4 separate regions of the Homo sapiens genome follow, and all the other regions are linked to region 1. Evidence: promoter capture Hi-C in 16 types of primary human blood cells and fetal thymus (Javierre and others, 2016). All regions are on one chromosome and are shown on one strand. The core of a region is centred on a gene start or on the middle of the fragment in contact, and the rest is flanking DNA. Distances in the headings are between cores, read along the strand shown. Region 1 holds the start of AGAP2 (ArfGAP with GTPase domain, ankyrin repeat and PH domain 2). Region 2 overlaps ARHGAP9 (Rho GTPase activating protein 9). Region 3 overlaps R3HDM2 (R3H domain containing 2). Region 4 overlaps R3HDM2 (R3H domain containing 2).

Region 1 (2,986 bases), core at 174-2,673:
CCCACGGCAGCACTTATTATAGTCTCAGCTGCGTCAGGAGGGTGGGACGCCAAATCAGGGGACTGCTGTGACTCCCCAAGTCCCGGGAAGGGGTCTCCAAGGCTGCAGAGAGACCTTCCTTCGCCCATCTTACCCCACCCCCAAGGGGTCTCAACCTCTTTTCCACTTTGGCCTAACCACTTCAGGATTCTCACCTGGCTGGAGGATAGAGAGCCTTGAACTCCAAGACCCCTAGAGGGGTGGGGGACACGGAGCAGACGGTTTCCATTCACTCTGCCTGCCTCCTCTTTAATCTTCTGAAAGAATCCCACTCAGCAAACCTCAGGAGACTGAAAGGGAACCCTGAAGAGGCCGGCTCTCACTGCCTCAACTGAAGGGTCCTTATACTTGGGGAGTGAAATCCTCCACCTGTGGGTAGCCAGGTGTCAGGGCAGTGCCTCCACTAATTCAGCATCCCGCGGTTGGTCCCCTACCCACCATACACACGGATTCCTCTCTGCTTCTGCCCGCTGTTTCTGAGGCACTCTTGGAGCTACGGTTGCTATGGAGACTGGATGCATTTTGGCATGGGGGGGTATCAGTCTAAGACACATCCTTCTCCCTCCTCCTAGAGCTGGAGCCTTTGACTTACCCTGTGGCCTGGGCTCCTCCAGCACTCAGATCTCTCCCTTCTCTCCTACCCTGCTAAGTTCCATGTTTGTCCCCATCCCTGGGGAACATTTTCCAAGTTCACTTTGGGACAGTCGAGCTCAAGTCTTGGCCCCGTCAAAGTATTAAATGTGGTGGTGTGAGTGGGAAAGGGAGCTGGGTCATGAGAACGGGAACCGTCCAGGTACCTGGGGGAGACAAGAGATCCTGGGGGAAGGGATTTCAGGGCCCCCACTTTCCCACTTCATCTTCCCCAGAATTGGCAGTGACCCTGGGTTTGCTCTGTTTACCGCGGCCCCTGTCCACCCAATAGATCGATTTTCACCCTTATCCCTAAATGCCATACCTCACAATCGCGCTTCCTAACCTTGGTGCGCGAGAGGAGGGGGCTAGGTTGTTGGAGGAGGTGAGTCCAAGTCCCAGGAAATCCAGCCCAGGATTTGGGAGAGAAATCCAGCCCTGGATTTTGCACCGCCCTCGCAGACATCGGTGCTGGTGGAGAAAAGGTGGGGGGGAGATAGGGTGGGGGGGCCTGGGGGCCGCCTCCTCCTCAATGTGAGGGGAGCGCCCGGACACAGCGCGCATCCGGACCAAGCCGAGCCCAGGCGAGGCCCCCGGACTCTTCGCCCGGATCTCACGCCCCTCCCCTCCCAGACCCCAGACCCGTGGGTTCCCACCCACCTCCCGTTCCCTCTTTCCTCCCCCGCCGCCTCCTGTATCTCCATCCCCAGCATCCTCCCCGCGCCCCTGCGAATCCCCCGCACGGCCAGCCCCACTAGCTTCCCACCCTCCTCTAGACCCTCTTTCCGACCGCATCCGCGGCCCCTGTCCCTTGAGTCCCAATTCCCCGCCCCTGCCTCCCCCGCACAGGTTCGTTTCCCCTAGCCTCCGGTCCCCTTTTCTGCTCCCTTTTCCTCTCTCTCCCCCATTTGCCCCCACTACTGTCCTCCCCGCCCTCCCCCACCCATCTCAGCGCCCCCACCCAGGCCGGGGTGGACGGTCCGGCGCGCCTCCCTGGAGCAGCACCAAGGTCCCGGGGCTCCAAGAGGGTGGGGGCGCAGGGCGGGGAGCATGGGGAGGGGGCGCCCCATGTGATGGGAGGGGGGCGCAAGCGGAGGCGGCGGAGGCGGCGGCGACAGCGGAGCCGGGCCGGGGGCTCAGCGGGGTCCGGGGGCTGGGGGCAGCGAGCAGGGCGGCCCCATGGCCGGGCCCCCCTGAGGCAGTCCGGGGGAGTCCCCTCCCCTCCCCAGCTCGGGGGTCTCCGGGCCCCATGAGCCGGGGCGCGGGCGCGCTTCAGCGCCGGACAACGACCTACCTCATCTCGCTGACCCTGGTTAAGCTCGAGTCGGTGCCTCCGCCGCCGCCTTCTCCGTCTGCGGCCGCGGCCGGCGCCGCCGGTGCCAGAGGCTCCGAGACTGGGGATCCTGGCAGCCCCCGAGGCGCGGAGGAGCCGGGCAAGAAGCGGCACGAACGTCTCTTCCACCGGCAGGATGCGCTGTGGATCAGCACGAGCAGCGCGGGCACCGGGGGCGCGGAGCCCCCAGCCCTGTCCCCGGCTCCGGCCAGTCCGGCCCGCCCAGTCTCCCCCGCTCCCGGCCGCCGCCTCTCCCTCTGGGCCGTCCCTCCGGGACCCCCGCTCTCCGGGGGACTGAGCCCCGACCCCAAGCCTGGGGGCGCCCCCACCTCCTCCCGGCGCCCCCTGCTCAGCAGCCCGAGCTGGGGCGGCCCGGAGCCCGAAGGCCGGGCGGGCGGCGGCATCCCTGGCTCATCCTCTCCGCACCCTGGCACCGGCAGCCGGAGGCTCAAGGTGGCGCCTCCTCCGCCGGCTCCCAAGCCTTGCAAGACCGTGACCACGAGTGGAGCCAAAGCCGGCGGGGGCAAGGGCGCGGGTAGCCGCCTGTCATGGCCCGAAAGCGAGGGCAAGCCCAGGGTCAAGGGGTCAAAGAGCAGCGCCGGGACTGGAGCTTCGGTCTCTGCCGCCGCCACCGCCGCCGCCGCCGGGGGAGGGGGCTCTACAGCTTCGACCTCTGGTGGGGTCGGGGCTGGGGCTGGAGCCCGAGGGAAGTTGTCCCCTCGGAAAGGCAAGAGTAAGACCTTGGACAACAGTGACTTGCATCCGGGACCGCCTGCCGGCTCTCCTCCTCCGCTAACCCTCCCACCAACTCCGAGTCCAGCCACTGCTGTCACCGCTGCTTCCGCGCAGCCCCCCGGGCCTGCACCTCCAATCACTCTGGAGCCTCCAGCTCCGGGGCTGAAACGGGGCCGGGAGGGGGGCCGAGCATCCACTCGTGACCGCAAGATGCTCAAGTTTATCAGCGGCATCTTCACCAAGAGCACA
Region 2 (3,055 bases), core at 75-2,574, 260 kb after region 1:
TGGGACCCCGGCAGTGGGTCAGAGTCCAGCTAGGGATACAGATTTCTCTCCTCTCTCACCTTCGACACGGCCCGCCCCGGGTCTAGGATCGGGAGAACCCCCTGGAGCTGCGTCTGTCGGGCTCTGGACCCGCGGAGCTGAGCGCCGGGGAGGACGAAGAAGAGGAGTCGGAGCTGGTGTCCAAGCCGCTGCTGCGCCTCAGCAGCCGCCGGAGCTCCAGTGAGGCGCGGGCTGGGGAGGGAGAGTCCGGGAGCGCAGCGAGGCTCCCGGGCGCTCACGCCCCGCTCTACCTGCCTCCTGCAGTTCGGGGGCCCGAAGGCACCGAGCAGAACCGCGTGCGCAACAAACTAAAGCGGCTCATCGCGAAGAGACCGCCCTTACAAAGCCTGCAGGAGCGGGGTCTGCTCCGAGGTGAGGGGGCTGGGCCAGGTTCATGGATAAGAAAACTCCAGCGAGGCTCAGAGTAGAGCTTCCCAGAACTAGACCACAACCTTCTGTGACTGCTGCTTTCCCACTACCCCAGATTGTTTAGGGGAGAAGCTGGGGTGACCTGTACCCCTTTGCCAGATTGTTTGAAGCAGGGGAAGGGAGGTGGAGTGTATTTCCTTGCCCAGGCCTGGCACAGGCAGCCAGGAGGACCAGCCTCACTTAAGGATAAAGACCTATGCTGAGAAGAGCTCCTGTGAGTGACGCTGGCACTGGCTTCCCGCCTCACTCTACTTCCCCAGACCAGGTGTTCGGCTGCCAGTTGGAATCACTCTGCCAGCGGGAAGGAGACACGGTGCCCAGCTTTTTGCGGCTCTGCATTGCTGCTGTGGATAAAAGAGGTCATTTTCTCAGAGACCCCAGAATCCTCTTCCAACAGGCTAAGGCCTAGAATTTTCTGCCTCCCCCATTCTACCTAGTCTTCCTACTGCCCTTTTTCTCTCCACCCTTATATCCCTCACCACACACACTTTCAAGCAGCAGTCCTTATCTACTCCTTCCTCATCTCCCAGGTCTAGATGTGGATGGCATTTATCGGGTGAGCGGGAACTTGGCAGTGGTCCAGAAGCTTCGCTTTCTGGTGGACAGAGGTGAGAAGGCTTGTGGGCCAGTGGTTGTACTAAGAATGTCTTGCCTGAGAACCATGGGCGGTCCTACATGAGGAAGCTGGCAGAATAGAGAGGCCGTCAGGCTGGAAGTGTATGTCTTAGCTCCTGATCTCTCCTCATTCATGTTGCAGAGCGTGCGGTCACCTCCGATGGGAGGTATGTGTTCCCAGAACAGCCAGGACAAGGTACTTACATGGAAGACCCTTCAGATCCCTAAAACTTCCACATATCCTCTTTGCTTCCCGTGGAAACCCCCATGTACTATTCCTGGGAGGGTTGTCCTCATCCCCACCTTAGCTACCTTGCCCCACTGCAGACCCTCTAGGCATTCCTATAGTCTGCTTTGACTGGATTTCTCCAGAACTTCTAATCTCTCAGTCTCTAAATCTTTCTGGCCCTTCATGAGCCCCTATACCTCCTTCTCCCTCCAGAAGGTCGGTTAGATTTGGACAGTACTGAGTGGGATGACATTCATGTGGTCACCGGAGCCCTGAAGCTTTTTCTCCGGGAGCTGCCCCAGCCTCTGGTGCCACCACTGCTGCTGCCCCATTTCCGTGCTGCCCTTGGTAAGGGTTGGAGCTTTGGAAAGAACCCTTGATGTGGGGGACACGGGTGGTAAATAATAGAATAGAGGTTCCCTTATACTCTTCTTTCCCATTCTGACTTTAGAGATGGAAAATAATGTTCAACTCAGGTGCCTACTCCAGTTGCTTTTTTGTGAATGTTTAGAGGGCTGAATTGAAAAGAATTATGAGGCTATAGTTGGGCTATGTGAAAAAGAAAGCTGTGCTAGATTAATGATGTCTTCCATGCCTGTGGGAAAGAGCAGTGCATTTACCCATCCTGTCCTAGCACCTTCCCTAACCTTACTACCATGCCTTTCCCATCACTCTCTCTAGCACTCTCCGAATCAGAGCAGTGCCTCTCTCAGATACAAGAATTAATAGGCTCAATGCCAAAGCCCAACCATGACACTCTACGGTACCTCCTGGAGCATTTATGCAGGTCAGGAAGACAGAACCTCTTTGTTCATGCTGGGGAAAGGTGGAGTGGGGAATGCCACAGGGACTCTGTGCAGGTGGAGTGAAGGTAGGGAAGCACCTAAGTTTAATGGGCAGGTGAGGAAGCAGGCAACCTCTGTGCAGGAGCATATTACCAGAGTCAAAACCTTTATTTTTTTATTTTATTTATTTTTGAGACAGAGTCTCGCTCTGTCACCCAGACTGGAGTGCAGTGGCGCAATTTCAGCTCACTGCAACCTCTGCCTCCCGGGTTCAAGTAATTCTCCTGCCTCAGCCTCCTGAGTAACTGGGATTACAGGTGCCCGCCACCACGCCTGGCTAATTTTTGTATTTTTAGTAGAGACGGGGTTTCACCATGTTGGCCAGGCTGGTCTCGAACTCCTGACCTCAGGTGATTTACCCACCTCAGCCTCCCAAAGTGCTGGGATTACACCGTGCCCGTCAAAGACTTTAGGTCAAAACCTAAAGGTCAGCATCAAGTGGGGAAATGGAACCAAGATGCTGTGAAAGGAATAAGGGAAATCTTACTTCTCCCTTCCCTCTGCCTCTTTGTCTCCCATTGGGACATTGCTGATGGCTTCTTTGGTTGAACTGGGCCTGGGCAGTGACTTCTGAGAGAGGATGGCCACTTGAATTAAAGACTCCCAAACTGTGAGCAGGCAGAACTCTTGGGGCAGCCCCTGAAGTCGGAAGAGGCAGTTATATCTTCAGGTTGTATCCTGAAGGTTTCTCCACTGGTCCATCTCCATTCTCCTTGTATCTCCTTGGTTTTTTTGTTACCATGTGGAGGAATCCCAGAGTGAACTCTTCCCTGCTCAGAACTTTGAAGGGTTAGTTAGATTGCTATGAAGTGGCAAGCTGCTGCCATATATCCCCTTCCTTGGCCTTTGCTTACAGGGTGATAGCACACTCAGATAAGAATCGCATGACACCCCACAA
Region 3 (2,973 bases), core at 22-2,521, 440 kb after region 1:
CTCCTGGTTAGGTTGTGGACTTCTGCTTAGGATTAGATAGCATGCAAAGCAGTTTCATGTATTTTAATTTCTTTTGTTGTGGTGGTTCTAGACTCCAGCCAGGAATATACGGACTCCACTGGAATAGACCTACATGAATTTCTTGTAAATACACTGAAAAAGAACCCAAGGTAATAACATGATGGGTATAAGAGGAAAAGGGGTTAGGGGATAGCAAGATTCCAAGAGGCCAAACGGCTTCCCAGAATTTTTCCATTCTTAGAATCTAGGATGCTCATCTTCCTGTCCCCCTAGTATTTGTCAGGTATAGTTTTATATTCTGTGAGGGATTCAAAATACTCTCACATTGAGGTTTCTGTTTTCAGAAGAATTGGGAAAACTTCTGTGAAAGAAGAATGCAGAAACAAAGAAATATGAAGTCTTGGGAGTATACTGATTAAAAAGCACACATTGGGAGTGATAGTAAGAAGAGCTAAAATAAAAAGCACAGAAGGAAAAAATAATTGATTTGTACATAAGCTAAATTATAATTCCTTTAAAATTGTTTATAACAAGATGGAATACAGAATGACGATTAGATTTATAACGTGTGTTTATATGAATATGTTGTTAACAGTGAGATTTCTGATATGGTATAACAAAGTATATGATTGGAGGACCTGCAAAATGTATACTCGGGTTGTTTTTCTTTTTAAAAATATTGTAAAACAGGCAAGTGAGGCTTAGCAGCATTATGGTTCATTACTGGGTTTGGATATATACCTTTTTCAGCTTCTGTAATGAGCAAGTTGTGTTTTCAATCCCCACTTTCAATGTCTATGGGAGGGCTGCTTTTTGTTTTGTTTTGTTTTGTTTTAATCTTTTTTAAACAGGGACAGAATGATGCTGCTAAAATTAGAACAGGAGATTCTGGAATTTATTAATGACAACAAGTAAGTTACTTGCATGAAATATATAATTAGAGGTGGGAGGGGGCACTGGAAATAAATTTAGGTACAATTTTAGGAGATGTTCCCCTTGAAGTGTGATTTTTGAAAACATACTGAAGTTTTTAAGTTATTATGTAGATTTGAGTTGAAAAATAATTTATATCTTTTCAGCAGCTTGCACTTGTCCCAGATTTTACTGTTCTTAAATGTCTTCCTTTTTCTTTGTCAAACATCATCCAGGTGGGTGGGACCTAGGGCTTAATAAGTAGTCTTTTTTTTGAGACAGTCTTTCTTTGTCGCCTAGGCTGGAGCGCCGTGGTACAGTCTTGACTCACTGCAATTCTGCCTCCTGGGTTCAAGTGATTCTTGTGCCTCAGCCATTGAGTAGCTGGGATGACAGGCACATGCCTAGCTAATTTTTGTATTTTTTGTAGAGACGGGGTTTCACCATGTTGACCAGGCTGGTCTTGAACTCCTGAACTCAATTGATCCGCCTGCCTTGGCCTCCCAAAGTGCTGGGATTACGGGCATGAGCCACTGCACCCAGCAATGAGTAGTCTTAATGAGGAAAGTAGGTCATAGTAATCTGCAGAATACTGTAGATAAAGAAACTGAGAAAAACCTATTTGGTTCCCATTTAGTAAATATCTATATTCCTTATAATATGTCTATTTCTCCTAAGAAACTTTCCACTTTAGACACTTGTAAGAAAAATTAAAATTGGTTGTTATTGCAGTTGTTTGTCTTATTTCACTTTTTTTCCCCGGGTTTCCCTTCAGTAATCAGTTCAAGAAGTTCCCTCAGATGACCTCATATCACCGGATGCTATTACACCGGGTAGCTGCCTATTTTGGGATGGACCACAATGTTGATCAAACTGGGAAAGCTGTCATCATCAACAAAACTAGTAACACAAGAATGTAAGGGAGGAAACCATGGTTTGGGAAGACTTCCCTGGGATAACCTGCTGGGTTGGAAGAGGAAGGTGTAGGATCAGGATGTCTCTTGCAGATGGCCAGGCGTGGTGGCTCACACCTGTAATCCCAGCACTTTGGGAGGCCAAGATGGGAAGACTGCTTGAAGCCAGGAGTTCGAGACCAGCCTGGTCAACACAGCAAGATCCCATCTCTATTACTTTAAAAAAAAAAAAAAAGTTTAAAAATGGCCGGGCGCAGTGGCTGACGCCTGTAATCCCAGCACTTTGGGAGGCCGAGGCGGGTGGATCATAAGGTCAGGAGTTCAAGACCCGCTTGGCCAAGATGGTGAAACCCCGTCTCTACTAAAAATACAAAAATTAGCCGGGCGCGGTGGCAGGCGCCTGTAATCCCAGCTACTCGGGAGGCTGAGGCAGGAGAATCACTTGAACCCCAGTGGCAGAGGTTGGAGTGAGCCAAGATCACGCCATGCACTCCAGCTTGGGCAATACAGTGAGACTCCATCTCAAAAAACAAACAAAAAAAATTTTTTTAAGTATTTTGCAGGGAAGGGGATTGGGGTTGGGGTTGGTTATATAATTAATTCCTACTCTTTCTGAGCCTTGGAGATAGATTCTAGAGAGACTGATGTTTCATGAAGTCTGGCCCTAGCCTCTCTTCACTTCACTGATAGGACAGATATAACTATGGAGGAAGAGAAGTTATAGATGTATAAAGTACAGACCCTGAAGATTTCATTAAAACCTGCATGTGACTTTTTGGATTCCTTACTCCAGAAATTCCCTGAGTGTGAGTTGTGTAATTTAGGAGAGCTGTACCTAATAGGTCTGCTTCCTAACAAAACGGTCTTTGTCCTCCTTTCCTTTCACATTTCTCTCCAAATCTCAGCCCTGAACAGAGGTTCTCAGAACATATAAAGGATGAGAAGAATACAGAATTTCAACAGAGGTTCATTCTCAAGAGAGATGATGCCAGTATGGACCGAGATGATAACCAGGTGAAGAATGGAAAGGGGTGGGCCTATATAGAGAGTTTGCAGTAAGAGAAACTGGGAAGGGAGAAGAATTTTTGTGGGATGGAGAAAACTCAAAATATCTTAGTACGGAGAA
Region 4 (3,091 bases), core at 461-2,960, 420 kb after region 1:
CTCGTGATCCGCCCACCTTGGCCTCCCAGAGTGCTGGGATTACAGGTGTGAGTCACCACGCCTGGCCTAGTTAATGAGTTTTGACAATTGTATTCACCCATGTAACCACTGCATCAAATAAAATTGAATATTTCAATCAGTCCTGGAGGGTCCCTTCTTTCTCTTTCCAGTCAAGTCCTGAGCAATCATTTTCTGATTGTGATCACTGTAGGTTAGTTTTGCTTGTTCTTGAGCTTCACATAAATAGACTATTATAGTATGTGTTCTGGTGGCAGGGGGTGGGGAGGAGAGTCTACTTTCTTTAATTTATCATAGTAGTTTTGAGATCCATCCATGCTTTTGTTTTGTTTTGTTTTATTTTCCAAGACGGAGTTTCGCTCTTGTTGCCCAGCCTGGAGTGCAATGGCCCGTTCTTGGCTCACTGCAACCTCTGCCTCCCGGTTCAGGCAATTTTTCTGCCTCAGCTTCCCGAGTAGCTGGGATTACAGGCATGCCACCACCACACCCGGCTAATTTTTGCATTTTTAGTAGAGACGGGGTTTCACCATGTTGGTCAGGCTGGTCTCGAACTCCTGACGTCAGGTGATCCACCCAACCTGGCCTCCCAAAGTGCTAGGATTACAGGCATGAGCCACTGTGCCCGGCCCTATCCATGTTTTTGTGTGTCTCAGTATGTACAGTAAGGTTGAGCAACCTTTACCCAAAATGCTTGGGACTGTCTGTATTTCAGATTTAAGATTTTTTGGATTTTGGAAATTTTTTTAAATTTTGGAATATTATGGTTGACCATCCATAATCCAAAACCCAAAATTGGAAATGTTCCTATGTACATCCCTTGAGCATCATATTGGTGCTCAAAAAGCTTTGGATTTTGTACTCTTTCAGATTTCAGATTTTCTCATTAGGGATGCTCAGCCTATAGTTCAGTCTTTTTTATTATTAAATAATATTACATTTGTTTATTCTCCTGAGCCCCTAGATTTTAAACATTTTTTAAAATGTATCAATTGAGAGTAACTTATGATTGATAAACAAATTAGTACAGGACCGGAAAGCTTCCAAGGAATTTGCCACAGGGTAGACCAGAATTTTTAGCACCTAGATATCGTTGTCTTGCTTGCATTCTCTCTACTTGGCCATAGATTAAAAGTGAGAAAATGAAATTATTCTTCTGTCTCTGAATATCCCCTATCTAACATATTCCTTTTGGCTCAATGCCTAGAAAGTTGTTTATAAATTGATGGAAGGATATATAATCTCACTCTATTATGGAAGGTACTTACCCTAGCAGTAAAAAAAATTATAGGGAATATGCAGTATTCTCCCTGAAAAAAATAGGTGAATCTTGGCTTCCAATAATCTTCCCCTGTATTATCCTATTTCTTCACTGCCCCACCTGTTCCCCCGACATCTCACAGTCCCCTCTGTGCAGCTTTGAGCTACTGAGTATCCTCAGGAGACATCTTGCCTTTGAAATTGTACTATTTGGCTGGATGAAATGTACACTGTACACAAATAGGTTGTAGGGAAGCACACATCTAGGCCCTCCTGGGAGCCTAATGTCTGCTTTGTTCTAGTCACCATTACATATGAAGTAGTTCCTTTCTTCTCCCATCAAAAACCTCCCAAACCCTTAATTTCTTCTCTATACCAAATAAACTATTAAGAATGGAATTACTTCTCTGCCTTTTAAGCTACTACTGGCTTTATTTTAGCTGTTTAAGGCTTTTTTTTTTTTTTTTTTTTTTTTTTTGAGATAGAGTTGCACTCTTGTTGCCCAAGCTGGAGTGCAGTGGAGCAGTCTTGGCTCACTGCAACCTCCACCTCCCGGGTTCAAGCGATTCTCCTGCTTCAGCCTCCTGAGTAGCTGGGATTAGCAGGCACGCACCACCACCCCCAGCTAATTTTTTGTATTTTTAGTAGAAACGGGGTTTCACCGTGTTGGCCAGGCTCATCTCAAACTCCTGACCTCAGTGATCCGCCCGCCTCCCAAAGTGGTGGGATTGCAGGCGTGAGCCACTACGCCCAGCCTAAGGCTTTTTTTAGTTGGTTGCTTTCTTTTGCTTTTGTTTTGGCCCAGAAAAAATTGTTTCCAGGAATCTTTATGCCCCAAGAGTAACGAGAGCCTTCTGCATTGGCTGAAAGGACTGGAAATGACCTTAATTAAAGGTTATTTTGGAAAGCAAAAGAGAGCCTCAGCCTAAGAAATACAGTTTTATGCTTAGTTTATCTTCCAGTGGATCTTAACTCTGTATTAGTAACAGTCTGACCCCTCATTACTCGCCTCTGCCTACTTTCAGGGCAGTTTCTTTTATCCTAGAAGAAAATGGTAAGGAGACTTAAAGCCATGTGATTTGAAAGCTTGACTTAAAGAAGCTGGGAATGTTTAGAGAAGGAAATAAGGTAAAGTTTTCTTTTACAAAGAGCTGATAGGGAAGCAAGATTAAGCTTGTTCTTTATGACTCGCACAGAAGGCTAAACAGGGGCCGGTGGGAGGAACTACCAAAGAGGTAAATTTTGCCTCTTTAAAAGGAAAGTGTTCCAAAAAGAAATGGTTTCTTTCTGGAGGTGAAGACTTTCCCTTCACTAAGAGGTATACAAGCAGGGACATTTTTCACAGTTACTAATGAGTTAAGAACCTAATTATGGAAGACTACGGTTGTAGAAAAATGGAGCTAAGGCTGGGCGTAGTGGCTCACGCCTGTAATCCTAGCACTTTGGGAGGCTGAGGCGGGCAGATTACTTGAGGTCAGGAGTTCGAGACCAGCCTGGCCAACATGGTGAAACCCCTTCTCTACTAAAAGTACAAAAATTAGCCGGAAATTGCTTGAACCCGAGAGGCGGAGGTTGCCGAGATCATGCCGCTTGCACTCCAGCCTGGGCAATAGAGCGAAACTCCATCTCAAAAAAAAGAAAAAGAAAAATGGAGAATGAGAAAGCTTCTAAATACCCTTACAGTTATGAGATTCCATGATTCCCTTGTGTCTTTGGTAGACTTTCCTTTCTGGTTTTTGACTATTTCTCCCCTTAGTTAGAGGCAGTATTGTATAAAGTTTAAGAAAGCAAGTAACAAAGCCAGATTTTCTGGATT

The links. Contacts are between HindIII fragments. The CHiCAGO score rates a contact against its expected background, and 5 or more counts as called.
Region 2: a contact is called between a fragment that was not itself captured here and the fragment with the promoter of AGAP2 in region 1, in 12 of 17 cell types (total CD8 T cells, naive CD8 T cells, naive CD4 T cells and 9 more). The highest score is 9.2, in total CD8 T cells.
Region 3: a fragment that was not itself captured here is called in contact with the fragment with the promoter of AGAP2 in region 1 in 1 of 17 cell types (M2 macrophages); the score reaches 5.9 in M2 macrophages.
Region 4: a contact is called between a fragment that was not itself captured here and the fragment with the promoter of AGAP2 in region 1, in 1 of 17 cell types (erythroblasts). The highest score is 5.5, in erythroblasts.

Annotation. Positions count from the first base shown.
Region 1 is chr12:57,737,179-57,740,164 of GRCh38, reverse strand. It overlaps AGAP2 (ArfGAP with GTPase domain, ankyrin repeat and PH domain 2), which reads left to right and starts at 1,423. Exons shown (of 19, transcript NM_001122772.3): 1 at 1,423-2,986. The coding sequence starts at 1,919. RefSeq lists a silencer at 2,051-2,270. The HindIII fragment of the contact is 3,748 bases long and covers 1-2,986 here.
Region 2 is chr12:57,472,647-57,475,701 of GRCh38, reverse strand. It overlaps ARHGAP9 (Rho GTPase activating protein 9), which reads left to right. Exons shown (of 18, transcript NM_032496.4): 11 at 87-219; 12 at 304-411; 13 at 729-827; 14 at 999-1,076; 15 at 1,226-1,279; 16 at 1,526-1,660; 17 at 1,994-2,099; 18 at 3,014-3,055. Among named protein-coding and RNA genes, the nearest start is that of ARHGAP9, 5.7 kb to the left of the region's middle. The HindIII fragment of the contact is 536 bases long and covers 1,057-1,592 here.
Region 3 is chr12:57,295,287-57,298,259 of GRCh38, reverse strand. It overlaps R3HDM2 (R3H domain containing 2), which reads left to right. Exons shown (of 24, transcript NM_001394031.1): 7 at 92-170; 8 at 873-932; 9 at 1,709-1,849; 10 at 2,753-2,861. Among named protein-coding and RNA genes, the nearest start is that of STAC3, 46 kb to the right of the region's middle. The HindIII fragment of the contact is 6,535 bases long and covers 1-2,973 here.
Region 4 is chr12:57,318,924-57,322,014 of GRCh38, reverse strand. All of the region lies in intron 2 of R3HDM2 (R3H domain containing 2), which reads left to right. Among named protein-coding and RNA genes, the nearest start is that of STAC3, 69 kb to the right of the region's middle. The HindIII fragment of the contact is 1,306 bases long and covers 1,058-2,363 here.